Regions from separate parts of the Homo sapiens genome. Here region 1 is linked to region 2. Evidence: promoter capture Hi-C in human tissues and cell types (Jung and others, 2019). All regions are on one chromosome and are shown on one strand. The core of a region is centred on a gene start or on the middle of the fragment in contact, and the rest is flanking DNA. Distances in the headings are between cores, read along the strand shown.

Region 1 (7,249 bases), core at 1,927-4,426, 180 kb after region 2:
AATCCTCCTCTGTGAGAATCACTCCCTGGTTTAGTCTCATAATGCTTTACCAAAAAGCTAAGCAGGCTGGGTGCCGTGGCTCACGCCTGTAATCCCAGCACTTTGGGAGGCGAGGCGGGCGGATCACTTGAGATCAGGAGTTCGAGACCAGCCTGACCAACATGGCAAAACCCCGTCTCTACTAAAAATACAAACATTAGCCAGATGTGGTAGCGCGTGCCTGTAGTCTCAGCTACTCAGGAGGCTGAGGCAAGAGAATTGCTTAAACCCAGGAGGCAGGGGTTGCAATGAGCCGAGATCGCGCCATTGCACTCCAGCCTAAGCAACAGAGTGAGACTCCATCTCAAAAAAAGAAAAAAGAAACCAGGTTTTTAACGTGTCCCAGATACCTTAGCTTTCTTTGTGTCCTGATTGAGGGGTATTATAAGGGAAATGTTATCTGTGGGACACTTTAACAAAGATCTACAAAATAATGATAACAATGTCAGCACTTCCCAGTTACTCAATTTTATCCATCAGTTTCATCCTTCTGCTTCTCATAGCAGGATCTTCAGGAATCAGCTCTTTCTCTTTCTACTTTACCCTATACATACTCCTTTTTTTTTTTTTTTTGTGAGACAGAGTCTCGCTCTGCGACCCAGACTGGAGAGTGCAGTGGTGCGATCTCGGCTCATTGCAACCTCCACCTCTTGGGTTCAAGCAATTCTCTTGCCTCAGCCTCCTAAGTAGCTGGGATTACAGGCACCTGCCACCATGCCTGGCTAATTTTTGTATTTTTAGTAAGAGATGAGATTTCGCCATGTTGGCCAGGCTGGTCTCGAAACTCCTGACCTCAAGTGATCTGCTCACCTTGGCCTCCTATACATACTGAGCCACCGAGCCCGACCCCTATACATACTCCTAAACGTTGCTCAATCTCTCCCCAGAGTTCTTCACCCACTCTCGAGTCTCTATCCTCTTGCTTCATTTCAGTCCATCTCAGTTTATGACACATTACTGTTTGGGTTCTCAATCATTATCCCAAGAGCCACGATGACTTTTACTTAGACCAAAGTCAAGTTCATCCTTACAACCCACAAGTGAGGTTGATCAGAACCCAGAGAGAAGTTTAGCAAAGGAGGTTAAAACGAAGTAAATAATTCCAAACGGTATCTTGAGAAAACTAAATCCTCATTGCTGGTCTGCCATGATCATCACTAATATCAAACAACAAATGTTGGAAACCGCAATGCCCATATGGCACTGGATAAGTTACGAAACCTCTCTTTGCTTCTGTTCTCCCATCTGTCTTGCAAGAACAATAGTGCTCGCTCCCTGGCTCCTAAAGGTATCAAGACAGGGAAAGCTTTTTTTTTTTTTTTTTTTTTTGAGACAGTGTCTTGCTCTGTCGCCAGGCTGAAGTGCAGTGGCGCAATCTCAGCTCACTGCAACCTCCACCTCCCGGGTTCAAGTGATTCTCCTGCCTCAGCCTCCCAAGTAGCTGGGAGTACAGGTGCGCGCCACCACACCCAGGTAATTTTTGTATTTTTAGTAGAGATGGGGTTTCACCATGTTGGCCAGGATGGTCTCGATCTCTTGACCTCATGATCTGCCTGCCTCGGCCTCCCAAAGTGCTAGGATTACAGGCGTGAGCCACAGCGCCTGGCTGGAAAGCATTTTTTAAAAAACAAAACAAAAACAACAGTGTCTTAAAATAAGACTAAAAAATTGTCAAAATAAATCCCTTGACAAACTTATTAAAAAACAGAGATCCAGGCCTGATATCAGATGTTAATCATGCATCTAACCAAATAATATCTTAATTTGGGAGTAGGAGGAGTGCAGAGGGGAGTGGAGGGGGCTTTACTATATAACCAGAAATCTAGGCTAGAATTGTGGCTGTAAATTCACTCTGGCATGACCGAACAGTACCAATGCCAAGAGTAGCACTCAGATGATGCACCAAAGCCCCCCCAAAATCTAGAGTTTCCTGGATGCTACCACCAGGATCCAGTCATGGCAACAGGGATCTTAAAGGTGTAAATGATTAACCTTCAGGATGGCTCACCTAGACGTGCAAACGTTTGAAAAAGCTAAGCTCTCTACCAGGGTAACCCATTGGCTCTCATCTCTTAGATTTCGTAAGAGTTTTACCTTCTGGGTAACATTTCAAAGCCCTGCTAAGATTAGTATCTACACCTGAACTCTGGACCATGGCTCCCTTCCAGCCACTATCTCTAGGCTGTCAATCGGGGTTAATTCGCTTTTTTTTTTTTTTTTAATCCTGTACTCTAATCATAGGAATTTCAACCAAGTTTCAGCTGGCTTCTGCATCTCACACTCCAGCAGGGACACAAGCCCGAAGGAAGAAAGGTGCCCGTCCATCTCCAGGCCGGCTTTCCCCACCTTTTTCCTTTTTGCTTTCCACCTGCATGAAGTTCCCTCTAAAGGTGCATGTCATTTTCTGGCCCTTTAAGTCCCGACACCCCATCCCACTCCGAGTTCCCTTCCATCCTCCGCACTTTCTCCCTCCCCACTTGCAGTTTGCCTCGACCCCCTCGGGGAGTTTCTCGGTCCCTCTCCGGGCGTCTTTCTGCACCCGTACCCTTCTCTCCGCAGAGCGACTCCGGCCTTGCTTCCTCTCCCCTGCCCTTTCCCCTCCCCACCACACCGCTGCAGCAGACGACCCCGTCCCCACAGCCGGCGCGTTCCCTGACCTCCCCTCCGCCCCTCACCTCGGCCCCCTTCCCTCGCGCCCCGGAGCCCCGGCCTCCCCACCCCGCCCCCGGGTCCCCCCACGCCGACCTCGGCCACTCCCTCCCGGTCACTCACAGGAGGCCGGAGCAGGTGGTGCACACGAAGCTGCCCACGGTGATATCCACGTAGGTGACCCCGCGCTGGGCGCACTCGAAGCAGTGGCGGTTCCCGGCCTGGCTGCAGCCACCCAGCTCCCGCACCCGACGGCACCACACCTCCGAGGCCGCCTCCGCCTCCGCCTTGCCCCCGCTGACCCCGCCGCCCGGGCCCGGGCCCTTCTTCGCCGCCATCACCATCGCTGCCCACTCCCTCCCCGCTAGTCAGCAATCACCCCTTCAACCACTGCCGCCTTCCCGCCTCCTCAGCCGCCTCCGCACGCCCGGCTCCCCTGACAGAAGCTCGGGAGCGGGCGGCATCCGCAGGAGACTTCGCCGTCCACCACCCTCCTTGCCCGTCCTGCACACTGATTGGCTAGGTTTCTCCCACCTCCTTACTCCGATTGGCCCTCCCTGGGACGGCCTCCGGTTGCTGGAGCCGCCAATGCCCCGCCCCACCGCCTTCAGGCCTCAGGCCTCTCCTATTGGCCGGCAGAGACCCCAGCAGCGAGAACCGTGCGTGCCCTCTCCTTGTCCCCGCCCCCTCTCGCCGCTGCCTCCACCGTGGCCCGCCTCCTAGTTCCGATTGGTGAGTCCTCGGCACTCGGGCTCCGACGCTAATTTTGATTGGCTGGCGGGGCTGCAAAGTTAGCGCGCGAGACAGAGGAGGTGCCCCGCGCGTGCGTAGCTGTCGTCCTCCCGACTGATGACGTTAATTCCCGGCAAATTTCAAAGGCTTACTCTAGACTGTGTAGAGTGTCATGCAAAGCCGAAGAGAAGTGGCCATGTGAGGGGCTGAGCAGGAGGGGGAAAGAAGAGAGCGCTTAAGGGAGAGAGGGAGAGGGAGCAAGAGTGCTTTACTAGACCAGTGCTCTAATTCCTGAGCCACAGAGCGAAGGGAGTGCTTTATAAATGTCATTTCATTCGCTCCGCCTATCCCAGAGGTGGAATCCCCATTTTACACCCTTAGGTTCAACAACTTGCGGCAGATCACACGAGTGCGTGGCCCAGGATTCCACTCTGGGTCTTCCAACTTTAGAAACCCTGCCTTTAACCCTCCTAGTAGGTGGACTATTATTCGATTATTCATTTAACAAACACTGAGTGTCTGCTAGGTTTCAGGCACGTTCTAGACACTGGGAATAGAATACAGCAGCGAAGCAATCAAACAAAATATTCTTATAGAGCTTAGTTTCTAGTAGGGGGAAGCAAACAATACACAAATTAAAGAATCACCAGTTAGTAATAAATCCTACGCAGAGAATTAAAATCACATCTTGGAAAAGACTTTTTGGGTACTTTTTTAATTTTTTAATTTAATTTTAATTTTTTGAGATGGAGTCTCACTCTGTTGCCCAGACTGGAGTGCAGTGGCACGATGTCAGCTCACTGCAACCTCTGCCTCCTGGGTTTAAGCAATTCTCATGCCTCAGTCTCCTGAGTAGCTGGGATTACAGGCGGCCACCACCACCCCCAGATAATTTTTGTATTTTTATTATTATGATTATTATTATTTGAGATGGAGTCTCGCTCTGTCGCCCAGGCTGGAGTGCAGTGGCACGATCTCGGCTCACTGCAAGCTTCGCCTTCTGGGTTCACGCCATTCTCCTGCCTCAGCCTCCCGAGTAGCTGGGACTACAGGCACCCGCCACCACGCCTGGCTAATTTTTTTGTATTTTCAGTGGAGACGGGGTTTCACCGTGTTAGCAAGGATGGTCTCGATCTTCTGACCTCGTGATCCGCCGGTCTTGGCCTCCCAAAGTGCTGGGATTACAGGCGTGAGCCACCGCGCCCGGCCAATTTTTGTATTTTTAGTAGAGACAGGATTTCACCATGTTGGCCAGGCTGGTCTCAAACTCATGGCCTCAAGTGAGCCTCCCGCCTTGGCGTCCCAAAGTGCTGGGATTACAAGCATGAGCCACAATGCCTGGCCACCTGTTGGGTACTTCAGATTGGGTTGGTCACCATTTTTAAAACAATTACTTTTTTTTTGAGACAGGGTCTCGCTTTATCACCCAGGCTGGAGTGCAGTGACACAATCATGGCTCACTGCAGCCTCAACCTTCTGGACTCAAGTGATCCTTCCACCTCAGCCTTCCAAGTAGCTGGGAGTACAGCTGTGCACCACCATGCCTGGCGAATTTTTAAAAATTTTTTGTAGAGATTGGGTCTCACTATATTGCCCAGGCTGGTCTGGACCTCCTGGGCTCAAGTGATCCGCCCACCTCAGCCTCCATCTCCCAGGTTCAAGCGATTCTCCTGCCTCAGCCTCCCAAGTAGTTGGGATTACAGGTGCGTGCCACCATGTCCAGCTAATTTTTGTATTTTTAGTAGAGATGGGGTTTCACCATATTGGCCAGGCTGGTCTTGAAGTCCTGACTTCAAATGATCCACCCACCTTGGCCTCCCAAAGTGCTAGGATTACAGACGTGAGTCACCGCACCCGGCCTCTTTTTGTTTTGTTTTGTTTTTTTTGTTTTTTTTTTTTTTTTTGAGACAAGGTCTTGCTCTGCTGCCCAGGTTGGAGGGCAGTGGCACAATCATACCTCACTGCAGCCTCAACCTCCCCAGTTCAAGTGATCCTCCCACCTCAGTCTCCAGGGTAGCTGAGACTACAGGCGCACACCACCATGCCTGGCTAATTTTTGATTTTTTGTAGAGAAGGGGTCTCACTATGTTGTCCAGGCTGGTGGCTGGCAGCCTGCTTTCTCTCTCTCTCTCTTGTTTTTTTCTTTTTGAGACAGGGTCTTACTCTGTCACCCAGGCTGGAGTGCAGTGGCACAATCTTGGCTCACTGCAACCTCCACTTCCTGGGGCTTGAGTGCTCCTCCCACCTCAGCCTCCCGAGTAGCTGGGACTACAGGTGCATGCCACCATGCCCAGCTAATTTTTTGTATTTTTAGCATGTTGGCCAGGCTGGTCTCGAACACCTGAGTTCAGGTCATCTGCCCGCTTTGGCCTCTCAAAGTGCTGGGATTATAGGTGTGAGCCACCGCACCCGGCCCCATTTTTCAATTAATGGCACCATGAGCCACCTAGTTGCCCAAAGCAAAAATCTAGAGCTACTCTCTTCAATACGGCAGCCACTAATCATATGTGGCTATTTAAGTTTAAATTAAATTAAAATGGGCTGGGCGTGGTGGCTTATGCCTGTAATCCCAGCATTTTGGGAGGCCGAGGCAGGCGGATCACGAGGTCAGGAGTTCGAGAAAAGCCTGGCCAACATAGTGAAACCCTTTAATCTACTAAAAATACAAAAATTAGCCAGGCATGGTGGCAGGCACCTGTAATCCCAGCTACTTGGAAGGCTGAGTCAGGAGAATTGCTTGAACGTGGGAGGTGGAGGTTGCAGTGAGCTGAGATCGCGCCATTGCACTCCACCCTGGGTGACAGAGCGAGACTGTCTCAAAAAAAAAAAAAGAAAGAAAGAAAGAAGAAGGAAAGAAAAAGAAAAGGAAAGGAAAAGGGGAGACTAAAGGAGGAGTAGGTTAGGGCAGGGCCTAACCTACTGGGCCATGGACCAGTACCTGTCTGTGGCCTGTTAGGAACCAGGCCACGCAGCAGGAAGTAAGTGGTGGGCAAATGAGCAAAGCTGCATCTGTATTTACAGCCACTACCCATTGCTCCCATTACCGCCTGAGCTCTGCCTCCTCTCAGATCCGCAACAGCATTAGATTCTCATAGGAGCACGAACCCTATTGTAAACTGCGCATGCAAGGGATCTAGGTCATGCACTCCTTATAAGAATCTAATGCTTGATGACCTGTCACTGTCTCCCATCACCCCCAGATGGGACCGTCTAGTTGCGAGAAAACAAGCTCAGGGCTCCCACTAATTCCACATGATGGTGAGTTGTATAATTATTTTGTTATACATTACAATGTAATAATAATAGAAATAAAGTGCACAGGCCAGGCGCGGTGGCTCACGCCTCTAATCCCAGCACTTTGGGAGCTGAGGTAGGCAGATCACGAGGTCAGGAAATCGAGACCATCCTGGCCAACATGGTGAAACCTCGTCTCTACTAAAAATACAAAACTTAGCTGGCCATGGTGGCACGTGCCTGTAATCCCAGCTACTTGGGAGGCTGAGGCAGGAGAATCGCTTGAACCCAGGAGGTGGAGGTTGCAGTGAGCCAAGATCGTGCCACTGCACTCCAGCCTGGTGACAGAGCGAGACTCCGTTTAAAAAAAAAAAAGTGCACAATAAACTTAATGTGCTCAGATCATCCCAAAATCATCCCCCAACTCCCACCCGCCGGTTAGTGGAAAAATTATCTTCCTGGTCCGTGGTGCCAAAACGGTTGGGGACTGCTGGGTTAGGGGGTGCTGATAGGCAGAAATCAGTAGCTTGGTTTTGGACATGTTGATTTGAGATCCTTGTGAGGCATCCAGTGGGCTGATAAGCAGGCAGGTGGA
Region 2 (7,757 bases), core at 472-2,971:
ACACAGCTTCTCGGGGGTCCCTGCATCCTTGTCTGCAGTTGAAGAGGAGTGAGAGATGGGCCAGGGGCACCAGCCTCTAAATGCTGTAGCCTGCTGGATAGGAGTAGTGACTGCCTTGTCCCCTGGGGCTTCTGGAGAGAGAGCTGTGATTGCAGCTTGGGAGGGAGGAGAGGATCTTGGTCCACCCCATACCCAATCCGAAGCCATAGTAATTCTCTTTTTGAGATGGAGTCTCACTCTATTGCCCAGGCTGGAGTGCAGTGGTGCCATTATCTCAGCTCACTGCAACCTCCACCTCCCGGGTTCAAGCAATTCTCCTGCCTCAGCCTCCCGAGTAGCTGGAATTACAGGCATGTGCCACCACGCCCGGTAATTTTTGTATTTTCAGTAGAGATGGGGTTTCGCCATGTTGGCCAGGCTGGTCTCGAACTCCCAACCTCAAGTGATCCGCCCGCCTCGGCCTCCCAAAGTGCTGGGATTACAGGCGTGAGCCACCACACCCGGCTTGAAGCCATAGTAATTCTGCTAAGAGGGGAGAGGCTGGTTTGGAGCCCAGAGCCTCTTGGATACTGAGCAATGCAGGGTCCATTCATCTGTCCTTGAGGAACAGGAAGAAAACAAGAAGCTCCATGGGGCTCCCCGACCAATGCCCACCATCCCCCTGCCCAGTGCCCCCCACCCCCGTCATCTGCCTGCTCTTCATCTTCTAGCAGATGCTGACCCACAGGCCCAGGACCACTGCAGAGCATCTCCTCATTGACCCCTCCAGTTAATCCCTAACCCTGCTGCTCAATTAACTTTCCCACTGAACAGCCTCATTTGTGCTAATTCCCTGAGCAGGAACCTGTCACGGCTTCCTATTGCCTCAGAACTGAGACCCTCCAAGGTCTACCATTCACTTCATGTTCCAGGCTGTTCTCCCGCTTTGCTCACTCCCACTCCCTCCACCACAGGAGATGGTTTGTGCCTTCCTGCCCTTGGCTCATCCTGGATTACCCTCCCACACCATCTCCTCGTTTTCTTTAAAGCCCAAATCTGTGCATCGCCTCCTCCATGAAGCCTTTCTTGATCTCCCAGCAGGAAATCGTCTCCTTCCCTGGCACTGCCGTCATTTATGTACATGTCTTAGGCATCTCACTGGCAGGACCGCCATGGACAGCCGTCAAAGATGAGCACTGCCCAACTCCCAGGGGCATCCATAGAGACTCTGAAGGGAATGGTACCGTCTGGAGTCACGTAGTGCAGGTGCCCTAGTCATCGAAGAGAGCGAAGGGCTGCGTATGGAAGTTCTGATGCATTTTTCTGTCTACCAAGCGTCCAGCATGTCCCTTTTCTGTGGTAACCACCCAAGTGTGGATTGCATTATGTGGTCCCTCCACTACATGCTCAGAGAAGAACCCAACCTAGAGGGGGCACTGAGCCATCCCCCGGTCAACCCAGCTCCCTGGGATCCTGGGGCGTGTGAAGCTTCCATGCACTTCCTGAGCAGGCAGCCACTGAGGCAGGGTTTGAAAAGGGCCAGTTGTGACAGGAGGATGGCGGGTGTGGAGGCAGGCTCTGCTCCACGGATTCCTCCTGGCAGTGGATTCAGATTGGAAATCCAAGCAGAAGCAAATTTACAGCCCCCCGAGCTGTCCCAGACCCCCAGGCAGCACGGAGCCCCAGCTGCCTGGAGTCGGACTTGGGAAGGGGGGCCTCCTGGCTTCTCTTTCCCTCCTCATTTCCAAGCAGTGGCTTCTCAGCTCAGCTCGAGTTCAGCCAGAGGCCCAGAAGACCTTCTGTGCTGGGAGGGGAGGTGGCTGGGGACCTTGTTGGGTGGCCTTTGGGGAACTGTGAAGGAAGCAAGAATGCTGGAGGGCCAGGCACGGTAGCTCACGCCTGGAATCCCAGCACTTTAGGAGGCTAAGGAGGGAGGATCCCTTGAGCCCAGGAGTTTGAGACCAGTCTGGGCAACATAGGGAGACCCTGTCTCTACAGAAAATTTGTTAGGCATGCTGGCACATGCCTGTAGTCCCAGCTACTCGGGAGGCTGAGGTTGGAGGATTGCTTGAGCCCAGGAGTTGGAAGCTGCAGTTAGCTATGATCGCACCACTGCACTCCAGCCTGGGCGAAAGAACAACACCCTTTCTTAAAAAAAAAAAAAGATGCTGAAGAAGGGATTCCTGCTGGAGAACCAAAGGAAAATCCTTTGCCAAAGTCCTCAAAGGAAAATCCTTTACCGCACCTGGCCTACCAAAGTTTTATGAAGCCTATTCCTGACTGATCCTTTGTTCTCTAAGTAAGGTGATCAAGGAGTTAGTTATCAAACTGATGAGGGGCCGGGTGAGGTGGCTCACACCTATAATTTCAGCACTTTGGAAAGCTAAGGTGATCATTTGAGGCCAGGAGTTCAAGACCAGCCGGGGCAACACAGTGAGACCCTGGCTCTATAAAAAATAAAGAAGTTATTTTTTATAGAGTTATATTTTTTATATAAAAAATAAAGAAGTTAGCCAGGCATGGCGGCACATGCCTGGTGTCACAGCTACTTGGGAGGCTGAGGAAGGATGATCATTTGAACCTAGGAGGTCGAGGTTGCAGTGAGCTATGATCATGCCACTGCACTCGAGCCTGGGGAACTGAGCAAGACCCATCTCTAAATAAGTAAAAATAAAACTGATGAGATACCTCAAGAAGTTATTTTATTGCCCGTTCCACTAACTAATAAATATCTGATGAATGAATGGGTCAGTGGATACATGGATGATGCAGAGGAGAATGGCTTGCTGTCTCCTCTATAACAAGCCTCTGCTCCCTTAAGAAAAGGCAACCGTCTTGTCACTTGAAGAATGCAAACAGAGGGTGGACTTTCGCCTTCACAGGACCTGCTAGATTCCTTCCAACTCAGTCTATTAGTCTTGTTTGCTATTAGACAAATATACTTCCCTGAAAAGGGAAAAATTATTTGCTGGTTGATGAACTAAGACACGAGCAGAAGAGCTCACTTAGGCCGGGCACGGTGGCTCACGCCTGTAATCCCAGCACTTTGGGGGCTGAGACGGGCGGATCACGAGGTCAGGAGTTCAAGACCAGCCTGGCCAATATGGTGAAACCCCATCTCTGCTAAAAATACAAAAATTAGCTGGGCATGGTGGCGCACACCTATAGTCCCAGCTACTCAGGAGGCTGAGGCAGAAGAATCACTTGAACTCGAGAGGCGGAGGTTGCGGTGAGCCAAGATTGTGCCACTGGACTCCAGCCTGGGCGACAGAGCCAGACTCTGTCTCAAAAAAAAAAAAAAAGCAACTTTTATGATGAACTTTTGCTCATTACAAAAACAATACGTGACCAAAATTAGAAAACAGCGCTAAACTCAAACACATAAACTGAAAAACACCCATAATGTCATTAGGGTCTTGGGACCTTAAGTGGCCATTTTCACAGGCTTCCTTCTGGTAGGATGACCTTTGCCTCATCCCAAATCTCTGTGCAATTGGACATCTGTTTCCTAAGGAACTACAATTGACACGTTCTCGTCCAACCTCTCTAGTGGTTTGAGGGTTTGTGAAACACCATTTTTCCCTCAACTCCTGACCAAGCACCAGAAACTCACCTGGGACAAAGTGCTGGGCTTCTCTAGCAGGATCATCAGCCTGATCAAACCACTTAATATTTCAAGGTCCCGTCCCCTTCCCTGCTATGCGAGCCACAACTGAGTCTGGCTCAGTTGTTAGTTTCTACTAATAACTCAGACTTGAGAATTAAACGCACACAAAATTGCCTTCCTTCACTTCTCCCCATTCCTATTAAGAAGCCTAAAACCATTTCTTAGCAAAATGGCTTCATACTAAACAATACTAGCTCTTGGCCGGGCGCAGTGGCTCACGCCTGTAATCTCAGAACTTTGGGAGGCTGAGGCAGGCGGATCACCTGAGGTCACGAGTTCGAGACCAGCCTGGCAAACACGGAGAAACCCTGCCTCTACTAAAAATACAAAAAGTAGCCGGGCTTGGTGGAACGTGCCTGTAATCCCAGCTACTCAGGAGGCTGAGGCAGGAGAATCAGTTGAATCCAGGAGGCGGAGGTTGCAGTGAGCTGAGATCACGCCATTGCATTCCAGCCTGGGCAACAAGAGCACAACTCCGTCTCAAAACAAACAGATAAACAAACAAAGAAAACAATAGTAGCTCTTTTTTTTTTTTTTTTGCCTGTAGTCCTAACTACCTGGGAGGCTGAGGCAGGATTGCTTGAGCCTAGAAGTTTGAGGTTGCAGTGAGCTATGATTGTACCATTGCACTCCAGCCTAGGCTACAGAGTGAGACCCTGTCTCTAAAATAAATAAATAAATAAATAAAATGTAAAAAGGAGGGCAGGGCATTGCATTTGCACACACCTTCTGCCTCCATCTCCTCACCCCTCTCCCGTTTTTCAAGCTTTTTTCTTTTTGAGACTGAGTCTCCCTCTGTCACCCAGGCTGGAGTGCAATGGCACAATCTTGGTGCACTGCAACCTCCACCTCCCGGGTTCAAGCAGTTCTCCTGCCTCAGCCTCCTGAGTAGCTGGGATTACAGGCGCCTGCCACCACGCCCAGCTAATTTTGTATTTTCAGTAGAGACGGGGTTTCACCATGTTGGCCAGGCTGGTCTTGAACTCCTAACCTCAGGTGATCTGCCTGCCTGGGCCTCCCAAAGTGCTGGGATTACAAAGAGACGTGGCTCACTGTTTCTGGCCTCCCAAGCTTTGATGGAAGTCACTTTGGAGAGCCAGTAGAGGGAGGAGAACAGAGGCTGGAGCTAGCCTCCCTACGGTCGGGCCTGCAGGCAGGGTTCCCTGCCCCACCTGCCCTGCATGGACTCTAGTAGATGCAGGAGCCTGGTTCACGCCCCCCCACACACAAAAGAGTGAGCCCCAGGCCCCACTCTTCCTTCAGTGGCAATGTGGAGGTCTGTTTCTGCAGAACTGCCACTGAGGGAAGCCCCACTGGCAAGCAGTGAGAAAACATGGAGTAGAAACAACAAACAAATAGGCTGCAGGAGGGAACTGCCAAAACAAACCAGATGGGAAAGGCTGCCTGCCACCACCTCTGCTGGGCTCAGGCCCGGAGCACATACGTGCAGGGAGACACAGCTCCATCCAGCTTCCTGCCGGCTCCCCGCTCGGCTACTGGGGGGCTCCCGGGCAAGGAAGCCTTGCAGTCAGGCTGATGGAAAGGATGTGGCCTGATAGAAATGTCCGCAGCCAGCCAGGTACGGTGGCTCACGCCTGTTATCCCAGCACTTTGGGAGGCCGTAGGCGGGCAGATCACGAGGTCAGGAGATCGAGACCATCCTGGCCAACATGGTGAAACCCCGTCTTTACTAAAAATACAAAAATTAGCTGGGTGTGGTGGTGCGCACCTGTAATCCCAGCTACTCAGCTACTTGGGAGGCTGAGGCAGGAGAATCGCTTGAACCAGGGAGTCGGAGGTTGCAGTGAGCGAAGATCACGCCACTGCACTCCAGCCTGGCGATAGAGACTCTGTCTCAAAAAAAAAAAAAAAAAAAAGAAATGTCTGCAGCCTTGTCTCCCAGTACCTCTTGCTTTCTAGCCACCTCGAGTCCCTCCAGTCCCAGAACGTAGCTGCCTATTCATTAATCCCCTCCCTGCCCACTGTTTTTTGAGACAGGTTCTTGCTGTTTCACAAGCCCTCAGTCACGGCTTACTGCAGCCTCAACCTCTTGGGCTCAAGCAATCCTCCCACCTCAGCCTCCTGAGTAGCTGGACCACAGGTGCACACCGCCAAGCCCAGTTAATTTTTAAATTTTTGATAGAGACAAAGTCTTACTCTATTGCCCAGGCTGGTCTCAAACTCCTGAGCTCTAGCAATTTTCTCTCTTCGGCCTTCCAAAGTGCTGGGATTACAGGCATGGCCACCATTCCCAGCCAAATCCACCCATCTCCCCGCCCCACTGTGATCTCTCTGCCAAATATGCCATCTCCCTTCTTTTCTGCCTGGCAAACTCCTATACATCCTTCAACACCCAGATCAAAGGTGAGTGAAACCATTTTGGGTCCCACCAGGAAGTTATTAGCCCTTTCCATCTCCACATTTCCTTATCATTGCTACTCTTATGTCTCACACATCTTACTCATTCACAAAAAATTATGTGTCCACCTTCCCAATTAGATGGCGAGCTCCTTGAACATAGGGACCATTTCATACGCAGATGCCAGAGGAAGGGATTTTGATGAATTAGAAGACTGATCTTCAGACCTCCAAACCAAACTACCTTCCTTGAATTAGAGTGAAATTCTGTTCCTAACCTGTAAATCAGAGGCTCTTAAACTCTTATGACCTCAAACGGTAAAAAACACAATGTACATCCTATTATAGTACATATATATATATATATATATATACACACATGCCTAACTGAAAAATTTGCTGGCCAGGCCTAGTGGCTCACACCTGTAATCCCGGCATTTTGGGAGGCTGAGGTGGGTGGATCACCTGAGGTCAGGAGTTTGAAATCAGCCTGGACAACATGGCGAAACCCCATCTCTACTAAAAATACAAAAATTAGCCAGGCGTGGTGGCACACGCCTATAATTCCAGCTACTCAGGAGGCTGAGACAGGAGAATCGCTTGAACCTGGGAGGCAGAGGTTGCAGTGAGCCAAGATTGTGCTACTGAACTCCAGCCTAGGAGATAGAGACTCTGCCTCAAAAAAAACAAAAACATCTGCAATAAAAACACCACCATTTAAGTTGCACTTTTTTTAAAACTTGGGTTCTTTTTTCTTTTTCTTTTCTTTTTTTAGACAAGGTCTTGCTCTGTCGCCCAGGCTGGAGTGCACTGGCGTGATCTCAGCTCACTGCAACCTCCCCCTCCTGGGCTCAGGTCATCCTCCCACCTCAGCCTCCCAAGTAGCTGGGACCACAGTTTTGTGCCACCATGCCCAGATAACTTTTTATATTTTTTGTAGAGATGGGATTTCGCCATGTTGCCTAGGCTGGTCTCGAACTCCTGCGCTCAAGAGACTGACCTGCCTCGGCCTCCCAAAGTGCTGGGATTATAGGCGTGAGCCACCACACCCAGCCTTATTTTTTTTGTTGTTGTTTTTGTTTTTTGAGACGGACTCGCTCTGTCGCCCAGGCTGGAGTGCAGTGGCACAATCTCGGCTCTCTGCAACCTCCGCCTCCCTGGTTCAAGCGATTCTCCTGCCTCAGCCTCTAGAGTAGCTGGAACTACAGGCATGTGCCACCACGCCTGGCTAATTTTTTGTATTTTTAGTAGAGACAGGGTTTCACCATGTTAGCCAGGATGGTCTTGATCTCTGGACCTCGTGATCTGCCCGCCTCAGCCTCCCAAAGTGCTGGGATTACAGGCGTGAGCCACCGCGCCTGGCTTTTTCTTTTTTTAAGAAGCTGTGACCCACAAATGGGTCACAACCCGCTTTGATAAACATTGCTTTAGTTGACTTTAGTTTGATAAATATGAAAAATCAGGTCATCCCACAAATATCCAAACAGAAAGTATTACCTGTGTGCCCAGTAATTATTTGGAGTGAGGGGTTCCTTCGCCACTGGAGCAGCCCAGTGAGAAGGGTCTGAAGGCCGGGCGCAGTGGCTCATGCCTGTAATCCCAGCACTTTGGGTGGCCAAGGCAGGCAGAACGCTTCAGGTCAGAAGTTTGAGACCAGCCTGGCTGACATGGTGAAACCCCTTCTCTACTAAAAATACAAAAAATTGCAGGGCATGGTGATGGATGCCTATAGTCCCGGCTACTCAGGAGGCTG

The links. Contacts are between HindIII fragments. The study calls those that stand out against the background at their distance.
Region 1: a contact is called between the fragment with the promoter of AGFG2 here and a fragment that was not itself captured in region 2, in 1 of the 25 tissues and cell types used here (spleen).

What each region holds. Positions count from the first base shown.
Region 1 is chr7:100,535,130-100,542,378 of GRCh38, reverse strand. AGFG2 (ArfGAP with FG repeats 2) reads right to left here and starts at 3,176. Exons shown (of 12, transcript NM_006076.5): 1 at 2,812-3,176. The coding sequence starts at 3,032. RefSeq lists silencers at 172-261, 2,816-3,115, 3,166-3,445 and an enhancer at 3,325-3,826. The HindIII fragment of the contact is 17,077 bases long and covers 1-7,249 here.
Region 2 is chr7:100,708,888-100,716,644 of GRCh38, reverse strand. No RefSeq gene overlaps it. Among named protein-coding and RNA genes, the nearest start is that of POP7, 6.6 kb to the right of the region's middle. The HindIII fragment of the contact is 5,689 bases long and covers 1-4,565 here.